Regions from separate parts of the Homo sapiens genome. Here regions 2 and 3 are each linked to region 1. Evidence: promoter capture Hi-C in 16 types of primary human blood cells and fetal thymus (Javierre and others, 2016). All regions are on one chromosome and are shown on one strand. The core of a region is centred on a gene start or on the middle of the fragment in contact, and the rest is flanking DNA. Distances in the headings are between cores, read along the strand shown. Region 1 holds the start of CD4 (CD4 molecule). Region 2 overlaps TAPBPL (TAP binding protein like). Region 3 has its middle 4.9 kb from the start of MRPL51.

Region 1 (4,843 bases), core at 1,722-4,221:
ATGGTAGAGCAACAAAATATAAACAGCCCCAATCTTGGCCCTGGAGGACGGCGTGCTGCTCCCTCTCTTCTGCACCACCCACCTCCACACTTCCTACATGTGAAAAATAACTTCAATCTTGTTGAAGCCTCTATTATTTTGGGTTTTCTTTTGCTTGTAGCAGAACCCAGTGCTTACCGATAGACAATTCTCCCAGTTGAAAGAAGGTTCTTTTGTGATAAGATCTCCCAGCACCTTGTGCTTTTTCCTTTGTAGCGCTTGTCGAATTGTAATGAAGTTGTTCGTTGTTTAGTGTCTATGTCATAAGCTGGAGTGGTGACCATATCTGTCTTCTTCAACATCACATCCCCAGCTACCTAGCAGAGTGCCTTGGGCTGGTACACGCTTAACTACGTACATGAATGAATGGAGCAGGGCTCAAAACATCAATGCCTACCAGAGCCTGCCAGGTAATGTAAATGAGAAAAGCAGACTGGCTGTGAACAATAGGGAGGGTGTTTGCTTTCTAGTCTGAAGGAAGAAGGCCTGAGGAGGATACATTTTCCCCACTTTGAGGAGCAACTCTGAGGTTGCACCTAATACTTTCACTTCTATCTATTAACCAAAATTGAGTCACTTGGACACATCCAGCTGTGAGGGAGGCTGGGAAGTATATTTTAAATCTGGGTAGCTAAGAGCTCAGCTAAAAATTGAGGGTTCTATTACCAAGAAGGAGAAAATAGACTTTGGGGACAGCTAAAGCGATAGCTGAGATCTGAAGAATGAATAAAAATTACCTAGATCAGTGGTTCTCAGAGTGAAGTGTGGCCTGCAGACCCTTGGGAGTCCCTGAGACCCTTTCAGGGGATCTTCAAGGTCAAGCTATTTTCATAAAAAAATACAGGATGTTATTTTCCTTTGTCACTATGTTGACATTGCAATAATGTTGCAAAAACAATCTGGATAAAACTGCTGCCTTAGCATAAATGAAGGCAGTGGTGCCAAACCATATGATAGTCATTGCATTCTTCACTGCCAGGTACTTACAGTAAAAAAAGAAAAAAAATTAATGCCACTTTTACTTAAGAATGCCCTTAATGAGGCCGGGCGCAGTGGCTCGTGCCTGTAATCCCAGCACTTTGGGAGGCCGAAGCGGGCAGATCAGGATCACCTGAGGTCAGGAGTTCAAGACCAGCCTGGCCAACGAGTGAAACCCTGTCTCTACAAAAATACAAAAATTAGCCAGGCATGTTGGCGGGTGCCTGTAATCCCAGCTACTCGGGAGGCTGAGGCAGGAGAATGGCTTGAATCCAGGAGGCGGAGGTTGTAGTAAGCCGAAATCATGCTGCTGCACTTCAGCCTGGATGACAAAGCAAGACTCTGTCTCAAAAAAAAAAAAAAAAAAAAGAGAGATCAAGACCATCCTGGGCAACATGGTGAAACCCCATCTCTACTAAAGATACAAAAATTAGCTGGGCATTGTGGCGCATGCCTGTAGCCCCAGCTACTTGGGAGGCTGAGGCAGGAGAATTGCTTGAACCCGGGAGGCAGAGGTTGCAGTGAGCCAAGATCACGCCACTGCACTCTAGCCTGGGCAACAGAGTGAGACTCCCTCTCAAAAAAAAAAAAAAAAAAAAATATATATATATATATATATAGAATGCCTTTAATGAAGCAGTAAATACTAATTTTATTAAATCTCAACCCTTGAGTACGGTGTGTCATGAAATGAGAAGTAGCACACAGTACTATATGCTACAGATGAAGTACAATGCTGTCAAATAGGGGTACTTGTGTTAATTGTTGGAGTCGCAAGCTGAACTAGAGTTTTCTTTTCTTTTCTTTTCTTTTCTTCTTTTCAAGACAGGTTCTCACTCTGTCACTCAGGCTAGAGTGCAGTGGTGCAATCACGGTTCACTGCAGCCTCAACTTCCTGGGCTCAAGCGATCCCCCCACCTCGGCCTCCTAAAATGCTGGGATTATAGGCATGAGCCACCACTCCCAGCCCCACTTTTTTCAGACTGGAAAACGCACACTCACATGTGCATCTTTAAATGATCACTTGGGCTGTGGTATGGAGAATGGCGACCAGTGAGGAGGCAGGAGCTGTTGTCCGAGCAAGGGATGATATTGGCATCTTGGATTGGCATGGTGGCAGTAGTGGTAGTGCAGAGTGACTTGGGTAGATTTTGGAGCCATTTAGAAGGTAACATCCACAGGAACTGGTAAATAAATACGTGGGAGAAGTTGGGTGAAGGGGGTGTCAAAGATTACACCCAATTTATTTTGCTTGGGCAAGTTGGTGGATGGTGAGCCCCTCACTGAGTGAGAAGCCTGGAGAAGCAGGTTTGGAGGGTGGTAGTATGCAGGTGGTATGCATAGTTGGGGATGTGTGTTGAGTTTGCTATGTCCGGTGAGCTTCCCAGTGGAGATGTCCAATGGGCAGACGGATACTCACATAGAGAGTTCATGGTAGATTCGGGCTAGAGGAAAGCACCTGAGGCCTGGCCAGAGACGCCTAGAGGAACAGAGCCTGGTTAACAGTCACTCCTGGTGTCTCAGATATTCTCTGCTCAGCCCACGCCCTCTCTTCCACACTGGGCCACCTATAAAGCCTCCACAGATACCCCTGGGGCACCCACTGGACACATGCCCTCAGGGCCCCAGAGCAAGGAGCTGTTTGTGGGCTTACCACTGCTGTTCCCATATGCCCCCAACTGCCTCCCACTTCTTTCCCCACAGCCTGGTCAGACATGGCGCTACCACTAATGGAATCTTTCTTGCCATCTTTTTCTTGCCGCTTAACAGTGGCAGTGACAGTTTGACTCCTGATTTAAGCCTGATTCTGCTTAACTTTTTCCCTTGACTTTGGCATTTTCACTTTGACATGTTCCCTGAGAGCCTGGGGGGTGGGGAACCCAGCTCCAGCTGGTGACGTTTGGGGCCGGCCCAGGCCTAGGGTGTGGAGGAGCCTTGCCATCGGGCTTCCTGTCTCTCTTCATTTAAGCACGACTCTGCAGAAGGAACAAAGCACCCTCCCCACTGGGCTCCTGGTTGCAGAGCTCCAAGTCCTCACACAGATACGCCTGTTTGAGAAGCAGCGGGCAAGAAAGACGCAAGCCCAGAGGTAAGGTGGTCAGACTCGGCTTCCTTCCCCGGAGCTGAGAGGGAGGGGAACGTGGGGCAGATGCACAGGAATGTGCTCTGCCCAGTTGTCTGCCCACAGCTCTGGCCACCTTCTCTTGCATTTCTCTTGGAACTGGTCATGAGCAGCGATTTCCCACTGGAACTGTGAGCTTCCAGAGGTCAGAGACTGTGCTAGACTCCTCTCTGCAGCCCCAGCGTGCACAGCTCAGTGTCCAGAGCAATGGGTGCTCCTTAGAGGAGTAGTGACCTAAATAGCAAGATCAGAGAGGGAGTGAAGACTGGAGACTATCCCAGGCTGGGAAAGGCGTGGAAGGCAACTAGTCGTGGGCAGTTGAGGGGAGAAGACTGGAAGAGGGGAAAAGAGGAGAAAAAGAGTGAAGAAGGGGAGGGAAAAAATTAGAAAGAATAAATAAATATAAGGTGGGAGGAAACCTATAAAAAAGAAATGATGAGGAAAAACATAAAAACAAGAAAAAGAGCAAAAGAAGTGGAATCTAGTCTAGAGAAAATTCTTGCAAAACCAATTTTCCTTAACGGGACAATCTCCAAAAATTGACACCAAATATCATACTTGCAGCATTTCATAAGTCGCATGATCTATGTAATAGTCTCTTTTAACTACCTTTTGTGTTTCTGTGTGTATTTTTAAATTTTTGTCTGCTTCTTTGCTCTTTTAAGATTTTTGAACAATGTCTAAAGGCACTTCTACTCTAGTTAGCTTTAAAATGATTCATGAAATAGGAAAGCTAAAATTCTCAGAAAGTGTTGAAACTGAGCTTTTGCGTATGAATTGCCCTAAAAGTTGCAGATACATATCTTTAGATAAATATGTCATTTAAGAAACGGATTCGAAAAGAATTGGTGGTAGGGGTCTCATGAGGCCGGGAGAGTTACAGAAGGATGTGCAGCCCCTCCTGGGCCTGGCAGGGTGTGAGGGAGAGTGAGGACTCACTGTCCCTCCTGAAGGGAAGCCCTGTGCCATCTCAGCCTTTCCGCCCTCAGACCTTTCCAGCCCCTGAGACCTCATGGCCTTGAAGCCGTGCTATCCCCAGTGTCCTCTGCTTTCCCCTCATAGGCTTCTTCTGGGAGAGAGGTTTCCTGGGGTACGTTCTGATCCCTCAAAACGGAAAGGCCCTGTTCTCAATAATTCAAAGATTTCACTCTGAGTGGGATAGTGCTTCCTGAATGCCCTGCTCTTGTGGTGGACATTTTTATCGGGGCAAGGCTAAGAGCAGGGCCTGATGGGGGAAGTCACTGCTACTTCACATTTTGACCAATAATTCCTTGTGCTGTATCAGATGCTGTAGGCTGATACAAAATGGCCGCCGCCCTCAAAGTCAGATGAAAGAGCCCCTGAGGACAGCGTTAGAGACACTCGGGAGATGATTTCCCTCTTTCAATGTGGGAGCACTTACATAGGAGAGGTCTATATCTAGATAAAAACTCCTCCCACCACTGGTGCTAGACAGAGCTTGGGGGCAGCCCTAGGCTCTGACCCTGGCCGTAATGGCGGGGTGGTGCTGAGGGCAATTGGCTAGACCAATTGTCTTGCACGTTTTATTTTTTATTATTATTTTTGAGACGGAGTCTCGCTCTCTTGCCCAGGCTGGAGTGCAATGACGTGATCTCCACTCACTGCAGCCTCCACCTCCTGGGTTCAAGCGATTCTCCTGCCTCAGCCTCTTGAGTAGCTGGGATTACAGGAGCCCAACACCAC
Region 2 (4,843 bases), core at 808-3,307, 330 kb before region 1:
TTGGCTTTACTATCTGTTTTCTGGAAAATGTAACCCTGCCCCCTTACGGCCTGCATCCAGGTGGGCCCCTCACACACCCCCGCCTTGGTACACCACCAAGGGACACTGTAGCCTCCACAATCTACTCTCATCTTGGCAGGAAGAAAAGGCTTCAGGCTCCTCCGCTGTCCCCAGTTAGATCCATGTGTAATCTTATTCCTCATTCTTTCTCCAGCTTCCCCTAAAGTACGACTGAGCTTGGCAAACGAAGCTCTGCTGCCCACCCTCATCTGCGACATTGCTGGCTATTACCCTCTGGATGTGGTGGTGACGTGGACCCGAGAGGAGCTGGGTGGATCCCCAGCCCAAGTCTCTGGTGCCTCCTTCTCCAGCCTCAGGCAAAGCGTGGCAGGCACCTACAGCATCTCCTCCTCTCTCACCGCAGAACCTGGCTCTGCAGGTGCCACTTACACCTGCCAGGTCACACACATCTCTCTGGAGGAGCCCCTTGGGGCCAGCACCCAGGTTGTCCCACCAGGTACTGGGAGTGTCCTCCTTTTCCCCACCTCCACACTAGGGCTCATGGCTCTCCTGCCCCAGCTCATCTATGGCCTTGTTCTGCTGCCCATCCACTTTGTTCGCAGCCCTGGCTTCATGCTCCTGCCTCTGCTCCTGACTATTTTCCCAAGGCGGCAGCTGCCACAGCTTCTACCACACATCCCCTGAGACTTCATTATACTCCAGCCTCCAGGGTGTCAGGCAATGTGCTTAAGGCTGGAGATCACAGATGAATAATTCCTGATCATGCCCTCCAGGAGCTTAGTCCAGTAATAGAGACAAGACTAAGTAGACAGAGAAGATGGCATTTGAGCCAAGTTAACTAGCTTAGAGGGAAGGGAACACTCAAGATAGAAACAATAGCATATATGAAAGCCAAATCATAAAACAGCCTAAAGAGAATTTGGAGAATTGCAAGTAATTCAGCACAGCTAGAGCTTAGGGTATATGGGAAAAAGGGAAAGTGGCTCTGAAGCTTCGGAGGTAATTCTATTTATTGAGCATTTACATGAATCAAGCAGTGTAGAAAGCACTTAAATGTATGATTTCATGGATCATGACTCCCATTTTACAGGTGAGTAAACTGGCACTTGCAGATGTCAATGAATTTGCCCAAGGTCACCTATCAATCAATGGTAAAGAGAGAATGTGAAAAACAGGCAACCGGATTCCCCTTACGGGCTTAATTAAACCCTGTAGATCTCACTGGGCCTTCAAGCTGGAACTTCCTGAGAGCCATAGCATGCTGTTGAAAGGTTTTATTTATTTATTTATTTATTTATTTATTTATTTATTTATTTTATTTTATTTTACTTTTTTTCGATACAGAATCTTGCTCTGTTCCCCAGGCTGGAGTGCAGTGGTATGATCTCAGCTCACTGCAACCTCCATATCCTGGGTTCAAGCCATCCTCTTGCCTCAGCCTCCCAAGTAGCTGGGATTACAGGCGCGCACCACCACGCCTGGCTAATTTTGCGTTTTTAGTAGAGATGGGGTTTCGCCATGATGGCCAGGCTGGTCTCAAACTCCTGACCTCAGGTGATCTGTCCGCCTCGGCTTCCCAAAGTGCTGGGATTACAGATATGAGCCACCGCACCCTGCCTGTCGAGAGGTTTTAAGCAGGAAAGGGACAGGAAAGAACCCGCAACTTGAAGTGGAAACATCCAGGAGCACTGGGCATTATTTGGTTGCTCATTAGACTGTGAACTTCCCCAAAACTGAGGTTTCACTTCAGCTCACATCATTCCCCAACTATTTACAAAATCCCAGTTAACTGGTGGTTTTTTGTTTTGCTTTGTTTTATTTTGTTTTGTTTTGAGATAGGGTCTCACTCTGTCGCCCAGGCTGGAGTGCAGTGGCACGATCTCAGCTCACTGCAAACTCTGCCTCCCAGGCTCAAGTGATTCTCCCACCTCAGCCTCCCAAGTACCTGGGACCACAGGCGCACACCAACATGCCCAGTTAATTTTTTGTATTTTTTGTACAGACAGGGTTTCACCATGTTGCCCAGGCTGGTCTCGAACTCCTGACCTCAGGTGATCCACCTACCTCAGCCTCCCAAAGTTCTGGGATTACAGGCATGAGCCACTGTGTCCAGGCAAGTTAAGTGCTAACAAATAAACCCACCTAAATCTCACTTGCAAAGCAATTTTTAAAACCTTGTCCTTAGGTGGGAAGAGGTAGAGAATTCTGTGTGGAGTAACTCACAAGTATCCAGCAACCTTGAATAAGAACAAATGCTGCTGAGTGCCTTGTTCCAGGCTCCTCAACCAGGGACTCACACACACAATCCTTAGCTCCTCCTCCCTGGGGTGGACACTGCAGGTGAGGGCTCAGCTCATGATTCCTGCGCACGATGATCCCCGCCCACGTTGCTCTCACCTACAGAGCGGAGAACAGCCTTGGGAGTCATCTTTGCCAGCAGTCTCTTCCTTCTTGCACTGATGTTCCTGGGGCTTCAGAGACGGCAAGGTAAGAGCCTGGGTGCCCTTGGCTCTGGCCCTGGCCCACCTCACCCACTCTAACCACCCCCCCGCCCAGACCAGGGTGGAAGCCCAGATGCCCCAAGCTCCAGCCACCCACCCATCACAGCCTCCTGCTTTTGAGTTTGCCCTAAATGAAAATGAAACCAGTCGTGTTCCCTCGTTTTCTCCTAGCTACCTCACTAAAGTCTGTCACTCTCCTGCCTCAGAGTAGAAAGAAAGAGTAGTCACGTGCTCCCAGAAGGACTCTAAGTCAAGTCACAGAGCTAAAAATACATGAAGGTGGCACCAGCTCATGGGGCACTGGGCCTGGCTCTGCAGAGGCCTCTGCCTTCCTTCACTGTGCACCCTGGGCTCATGCACCAAGGCAGAGAACAGGAAGAAGTGAGGGGACAAGAAGAAGGCAGAATGTCCAGATGGAGGATAAGACCAAAGAGCCAGGTTGGTGGTGTGACGGTAGGAAAACAAAGCTGGAGGAAATGGAGAAGGAACAAGTGAGGGACAATGAGGCATGGGTTGGGGCTGGGCTACCCCTCCCAAACTCAGCTCTGTCAAAATAAAAGGCCCTTGTGTCTGCTGCGACCAAGCTTTTCCACTTTCCTGTCTTTCTCCACACTGGTCCCAACTGAGCCCTGTCACCAAGCCTAGCGGCTCCAACTTGCAAAGTGTTTAAGTATGAAACAAAGGCCCTCAGAGGCACCCCCGTGGCTCCATCTCAGTTGCACCTCAGCTGCAATTAGGGTTCTGCTCCCTCGGGTGACTGCTGGGAGGTTCAGGATACCTGCAAATGCCTCACTCCCTCAGCTGCAAGGAGAGACTTCTCCTTTTTATTCGTTTCTAAAATGTGCCTAATCAATACGGTGGAACTCAGCATACCAAAACTGTACGTGAGGATGATGGGGAAAAGGGGGTAAGGGGGTGTTCACTGACAGCCTTATCTGGGCACATCCCCTGGGACAGGACAAGCAGGCCAAGGACCTAGGAAGGAGCACAGGAGGCAGATGGAAGAGGCCTGAGGGAACCTGTGCTTGTTTGCCAGTGTGAGATGCCCACGCAACTTCCTGTCTTCACTTCCTCTTACCAGCACCTACAGGACTTGGGCTGCTTCAGGCTGAACGCTGGGAGACCACTTCCTGTGCTGACACACAGAGCTCCCATCTCCATGAAGACCGCACAGCGCGTGTAAGCCAGCCCAGCTGACCTAAAGCGACATGAGACTACTAGAAAGAAACGACACCCTTCCCCAAGCCCCCACAGCTACTCCAACCCAAACAACAACCAAGCCAGTTTAATGGTAGGAATTTGTATTTTTTGCCTTTGTTCAGAATACATGACATTGGTAAATATGCCACATGCCTTTGGTGGAAGTACAACTGTTGTTATTACTCTATACAAGTATGAGATCAGGGTTAGGAAAAAAAGACAAAGAGGTGATGACAGACACACAGTGGAAACCCCACATCGTCTCATGGCAAACCGAAGAACGGGATGTGGGAAGCTCAGCTTCATTTGACTGCAAAGTCCCAGGGTTTTGTTGCACATTTGCTCATGCACATGGGTGGTGGGAGGAAAGGGGGATAGCAGAGACACACAGAAGAGGGTACAGGGTGGGTGAGAAAGAAAGTAGAAGGGCTAATACCCCCAAAGAACAAGGCCAACTACACCTGGTGAGCCTCAGAGGGACAGAAACCCAGGAATGATTCCTGTGATAGGGCTGGGAGAGCCAAGAGGACGGATTCGCTCCAGGCTTGGGACACATCGAGGACAGTGGTGGTTCTTCTCCAGCGGTGACCCCCTGCATTAGGCAAGGAGGAGCCCAGAGGAGAGTGGAGACCTTCGAGGGGGGCCGTTGGGAGGGTACTGACTGCTTTCTTCCAGCTCTTCAGTCCCGCCCTTGGGCAGGACGAAGGGAATGTGGGAAACAAGGGCGAAAGGAAAGGAAGGATGGTTTTGAGCAATGAAATGCTGCTGCATGGAAAGTGGGCATCCAGACCCTGCCCAGCATGGCCTCAGCCTCTTCCTGTTCGTGGACCGAGGGAAGAAGGAATAAAGGGCCATGGGCATTCTCCGCTCTGTTCCCAGCCTGCCCTCCTCCCCTTGCACCTGGGCTTATCCCACATTAATAGCCCATCCTGAAGCTCAGCAATTGCCCCGAAGATAGGCTGAGCAGATCCCATCCTCAGGTTCCACTGTCTATACACACAAACCATGCAAAGAGGAGGAAGAGAAAGGAGGCAAAGTAGAATTCAGACAGGAAAGGGTGGTTCAAAGGGGAATATACTACAGGAAGAACAGAGAGGCGGCTCTCAAGGAGAGGGCCCCAT
Region 3 (4,843 bases), core at 1,580-4,079, 300 kb before region 1:
AGTTCTTTTTGATTATCTCATTTGATATTGTAAAAGGAATTTTAAAAAATGCAAATCTATAATTAAAACGAATGTTAAACTTGGAACAGAAGGAAATATCTTAACTTGGTAAAAGTTATATACTAGAGATTCATAACAAATATTTAATAGACATGTATTCCATTTAAGATTTAGAACAAGAAGAGGATGCCTTTTTTTTTTCTTTCTTTTCTTTTCTTTTCTTTTTTTTTTTTTTTTTTTGAGACAGTCTCACTCTGTTGCCCAGGCTGGAGTGCAGTGGCGCGATCTCAGCTCACTGCAACCTCTGCCTCCCGGCTTCAAGCGATTCTCCTGCCTCAGCCTCCTGAGTAGCTGGGATTACAGGCGCCTGCCACCACGCCCGGCTAATTTTTGGGTTTGTTGTTGTTGTTGTTTTGTTGTTTTTGAGATGGAGTCTCACTCTTGTCACCCAGGCTGGAGTGCAATGGCGCAATCTCGGCTCACTGCAACCTCCGCTTCCTGGGTTCAAGCGATTCTCCTGCCTCAGCCTCCCAAGTAACTGGGGATTACAGGTGCCCGCCACCATGCCCAGCTAATTTTTGTATTTTTAGGAGAGATGGGCTTTCACCATGTTGGCCAGGCTGATCTCGATCTCCTGACCTCAAGTGATCCGCTCACCTCTGCCTCCCAAAGTGCTGTGATTACAGGTGTGAGCCACCACCCGTTGTTTTTTTTTTTTTTTTTTGAGACAGAGTTTTGTTCTTGTTGCTGGCAGGGATTACATGCGTGAGCCACCGTGGCTGGCCCTATTTTTTTTTTTTTTTTTTTTAGAGAGAGAGATAGGCTCTTGCTCTGTTTCCCAGGCTGGAGTGCACTGATGTGATCATAGTTCACTGCAGCCTTGAACTCCTGGGCCCAAGCCATCCTCCCACCTCAGCCTCTCAAGTAGCTAAGACGACAGGCACTCACCAGAACTACAGGTACTCACCAACCTACCCAGCTATTTTTTTCTTTTTATTTTTTAGAGGCAGGGTCTCACTATGTTGCCCAGGCTGGTCTCAAACTCCTGGCCTCAAGTGATCCTCCCCTCCCGCTTGGCCTCCAAAAGTGTTGGGATTACAGGTGTGAGCCACTACGCTGGCCAGTACCTCATTTTACAGCTTAATAATATTCCATTGTCAGTGTGCAGGAAGGAGTGTTAAAAAGAAAGTTAAAAAAATAATATTCCATATTCTGGTTGGGTGTGGTGGTTCACGCCTGTAATCCCAGCACTTTGGGAGGGCAAGGTAGGTGGATCACGAGGTCAGGAGATCGAGACCACCCTGGCTAACACGGTGAAACCCCGTCTGTACCAAAAATGCAAAAAATTAGCCGGGCGTGGTGGCAGGTGCCTGTAGTCCCAGCTATTCAGGAGGCTAAGGCAGGAGAATGGTGTGAACCTGGGAGGCGGAGCTCGCAGTGAGCCGAGATCGGGCCACTGCACTCCAGCCTGGGCGACAGAGCGAGACTCTGTCTCAAATAATAATAATAATAATATTCCATATTCTATTGTATGGATAGACCACATTTTGTGTATCCATTCACCAGCTGACGGATATTTGGATTGTTTCTTCTTTTTAGCTATTATGAATAATGTTGCTAAGGAGATTTATGTACAAGTGTTTGTGTGGACATATGTTTTCAGTTTTCTTGGGTATAAACCTAGGAGTGGAATTACTGGGTCATGCAGTAACTCTACACTTAACTTTTTGTGGAACTGCCACTTTTCCAAAGTGGCTGCACCATTTTACTAAAGGCTAAATTTTTTTTTTTGAGATGGAGTCTCACTCTGTCGCCCAGGCTGGAGTGCGGTGGTGCGATCTCAGCTCACTGCAAACTCCGCCTCCTGGGTTCACGCCATTCTCGCGCCTCAGCCTCCCAAGTAGCTGGGACTACAGGTGCCCGCCACCATGCCAGGCTAATTTTTTGTATTTTTAGTACAGATGGGGTTTCACCGTGTTAGCCAGGATGGTCTCGATCTCCTGACCTCGTGATCTGCCTGTCTCAGCCTCCCAAAGTGCTGGGATTACAGGCGTGAGCCACCGCGCCCGGCCCCCTAAAGGCTAAATTTTAATAATCATTACAATCTTCAGGATCTGACTCTTGCTTCCCATCTCTTTCCCTGTCTTTTACCACAAGCAGTAGCTCCACCAGTAAATACCACTCATAGCTTTCTCATGCACACCATGCTGTTTCTTGACTCTAGGCCTTTATTTCTGCTTCAACTGCCTGGAAAAACTGCTAGCCTCCACTCCCTTAAGACAACTCAGTGGTCACCTCTTCTCTAAAGCCCTTCTCGTCCCCATTCCTGCTTCCTCAGGAAAAGATAGGTGTCTCTTCCTCTCCACACCTATACACATAGCTATTAACAAACTTTAAATGTCATGACATACTGGATTTCATAACTATGCTTCTTCATCTGCCTCTTGCACTGGGTGGAATTCTTTTTTCCTTTTTTTTTTTTTTAAAGGCAGGATCTTGCTATGTTGCCCAGGCTAGAATGTAGTGGCCTGATCTCAGCTCACTGCCACCTCCACCTGCTGGGCTCAAGCCATCCTCCCCCCTCAGCCTCCTGAGTAGCTGGAATTACAGGCATGTGCCATCATGCCCAGCTAATTTGTTTTTTGTATTTTTTTAGTAGAGATGGGGTTTCACCACTTTGGCCAAGCTGGTCTTGAACTCCTGACCTCAAGTGATCTGCTCACCTCGGCCTCCCAAAGTGCTGGGATTACAAGCATGAGCCACTGCTCCTGGCCTCAAGAGCTCATTCTAATGCCATCTTTTCAACAAATACCTTTTCTGATCATCCCCCTCAGCAAAAAAAAAAAAGAAAAAAAAAACCTGTCATGGGACTCGCTTTCATTATCATATTTAAATTTACATTTTGTTTACATACACATCTCTTCTTTTTTTCTTTTTTCCAGTCTTACCCCTGTATAAACTGGATGAAGCTGCTGCCAATTTAACCAAGTGGGAATCCCAGTGCTAATTGTCTGCTGGATGGGATATCTTTATTGGAGCAGATTAACATAGCCTCACATTTGTGGTTTGTGACCACTGATTTAGCAAATACATTGTTTTTCTTTTTTCTTTTTCTTTTTCTTTTGAGACAGGGTCTTGCTTTGTTGCCTAGGCTGAAGTGCAGTGTCACAAGCTCAGCTCACTGCAGCCTCGACCCCCAAGGCTCAAGCAATCCTTCCACCCAGCCTCCACAGCAGCTGGGACTACAGGCACATGCCACCAACGCCTGGCTAATTTTTTTTTTTTTTTTTTGTGGAGACAGCATTTCACCATGTTGCCCAGGCTGATCTCGAATTCCTGGGCTCAGCTGATCCTCTCGCCTCAACCTCCCAAAGTGTTGGGATTACAGGTGTGAGCCACTGCACCTGGCGAACATCCTTTTCTTTTTTGTTTTTTTCCTTTGAGACAGAGTTTCGCTCTTGGTGCCCAGGCTGGAGTACAATGGCACGATCTTGGCTCACTGCAACCTCCACCTCCCGAGTTCAAGCGATTCTCCTGCCTCAGCCTCCTGAGTAGGTGGGATTACAGGCATGTGCCACCAGGCCCAGCTAATTTTGTATTTTTAGTAGTCAGGGTTTCTCCATGTTGGTCAGGCTGGTCTCGAACTCCTGACCTCAGGTGATCCGCCCACCTTGGCCCCCCAAAGTGCTGGGATTACAGGCCTGAGCCAGCATGCCCAACCAACATTCTTTTCTAAAGCATGTTGGTCAGAAGCAGTCCACCACGGAGGGGATGAACAACAGTATACAGTCATGGTCTTTCATCAGGGCTATGTTAATTCTGTTCTCTGTCATGATGTAATCTAAAAAATGTGGACCATTTGCACATTCTGCAGAGTATCACATTGGTCCACCATCTTGTAACTTTACATCCTTCAGACGTCTTTTTTTTTTTTTTTTTCTTTTTTTAAAGACAGAGTCTCCCTCTGTTGCCCAGGCTGAAGTGCATGGTGCAATCTCAGCTCACTGCAACCTCTCTGTCTCCCGGATTCAAGCGATTCTCCTGCCTCAGCCTCCCGAGTAGCTGGGATTACAGGCACACACCACTATACCTGGCTAATTTTTTTGTATTTTTAGTACAGACGAGGTTTCACCATGTTGGCCAGGATGGTCTTGATCTCCTGACCTCGTGATCCGCCCACCTAGGCCTTCCAAAGTGCTGGGATTACAGGTGTGAGCCACCGGACATCTTTTAAGTAGAATGAAGACTACTTAGAGGTAGGAACCAACCCTACCTTGGTGATTTTTGTTCCTCCAAATATCTTTGCACATAATAATTCAATATTTATTCAAAGAAAACGTTATATACTGTTTCATACCACAAACAAGATTGTTCTGTCCTTGAAAACAAAACCTTTTGTATCTTTGAATCAGGAAATATTCTATAAATGCCTATTGACCTATTAATTTCCTCTTCCCTAACAATCAGATACTCTACCAGGATATGTAGATATCTTCTTCAGGGCACCTTGCACTTAGCAGAGTCCCAAATATTTTATTTTCTCCACTCTAGCACCACCAAATCATGTAAAGTATACAGCCACTCACATTTCACATCAACTTCTCCATTCTTATGCATAGCTCCTTCCAGCCACCCCTCTGAAAACTGACTCTCCTAAACATTTCCGTAAGACCCAGGATCATGTTTTCATATATACCCATCAATCCATTTATCCAAAACCCACTTGTAATTTAACAAGTGCTTTTTATTTTTATTGAAGATGGGGTCTTGCTATGTTCCTAAGGCTGGCCTCCAACTCCTGGTTTCAAAGGATCCTCCCACCTCAGCCTGCAGAGTAGCTGGG

The links. The method cuts DNA at HindIII sites, captures the fragments that hold promoters and counts their contacts. A CHiCAGO score of 5 or more calls a contact.
Region 2: a contact is called between a fragment that was not itself captured here and the fragment with the promoter of CD4 in region 1, in 4 of 17 cell types (activated CD4 T cells, total CD4 T cells, non-activated CD4 T cells and 1 more). The highest score is 7.3, in activated CD4 T cells.
Region 3: a contact is called between a fragment that was not itself captured here and the fragment with the promoter of CD4 in region 1, in 1 of 17 cell types (naive CD4 T cells). The highest score is 5.9, in naive CD4 T cells.

Annotation. Positions count from the first base shown.
Region 1 is chr12:6,786,557-6,791,399 of GRCh38, forward strand. It overlaps CD4 (CD4 molecule), which reads left to right and starts at 2,972. Exons shown (of 10, transcript NM_000616.5): 1 at 2,972-3,106. RefSeq lists a silencer at 227-521 and enhancers at 2,456-3,013, 2,829-2,878. The HindIII fragment of the contact is 6,468 bases long and covers 1-4,843 here.
Region 2 is chr12:6,458,431-6,463,273 of GRCh38, forward strand. TAPBPL (TAP binding protein like) reads left to right here. Exons shown (of 7, transcript NM_018009.5): 5 at 215-517; 6 at 2,425-2,508; 7 at 3,604-3,886. The coding sequence ends at 3,719. It overlaps VAMP1 (vesicle associated membrane protein 1), which reads right to left. Exons shown (of 5, transcript NM_014231.5): 5 at 3,807-4,843. Among named protein-coding and RNA genes, the nearest start is that of TAPBPL, 8.8 kb to the left of the region's middle. The HindIII fragment of the contact is 2,094 bases long and covers 1,011-3,104 here.
Region 3 is chr12:6,485,900-6,490,742 of GRCh38, forward strand. No RefSeq gene overlaps it. Among named protein-coding and RNA genes, the nearest start is that of MRPL51, 4.9 kb to the right of the region's middle. The HindIII fragment of the contact is 7,598 bases long and covers 1-4,843 here.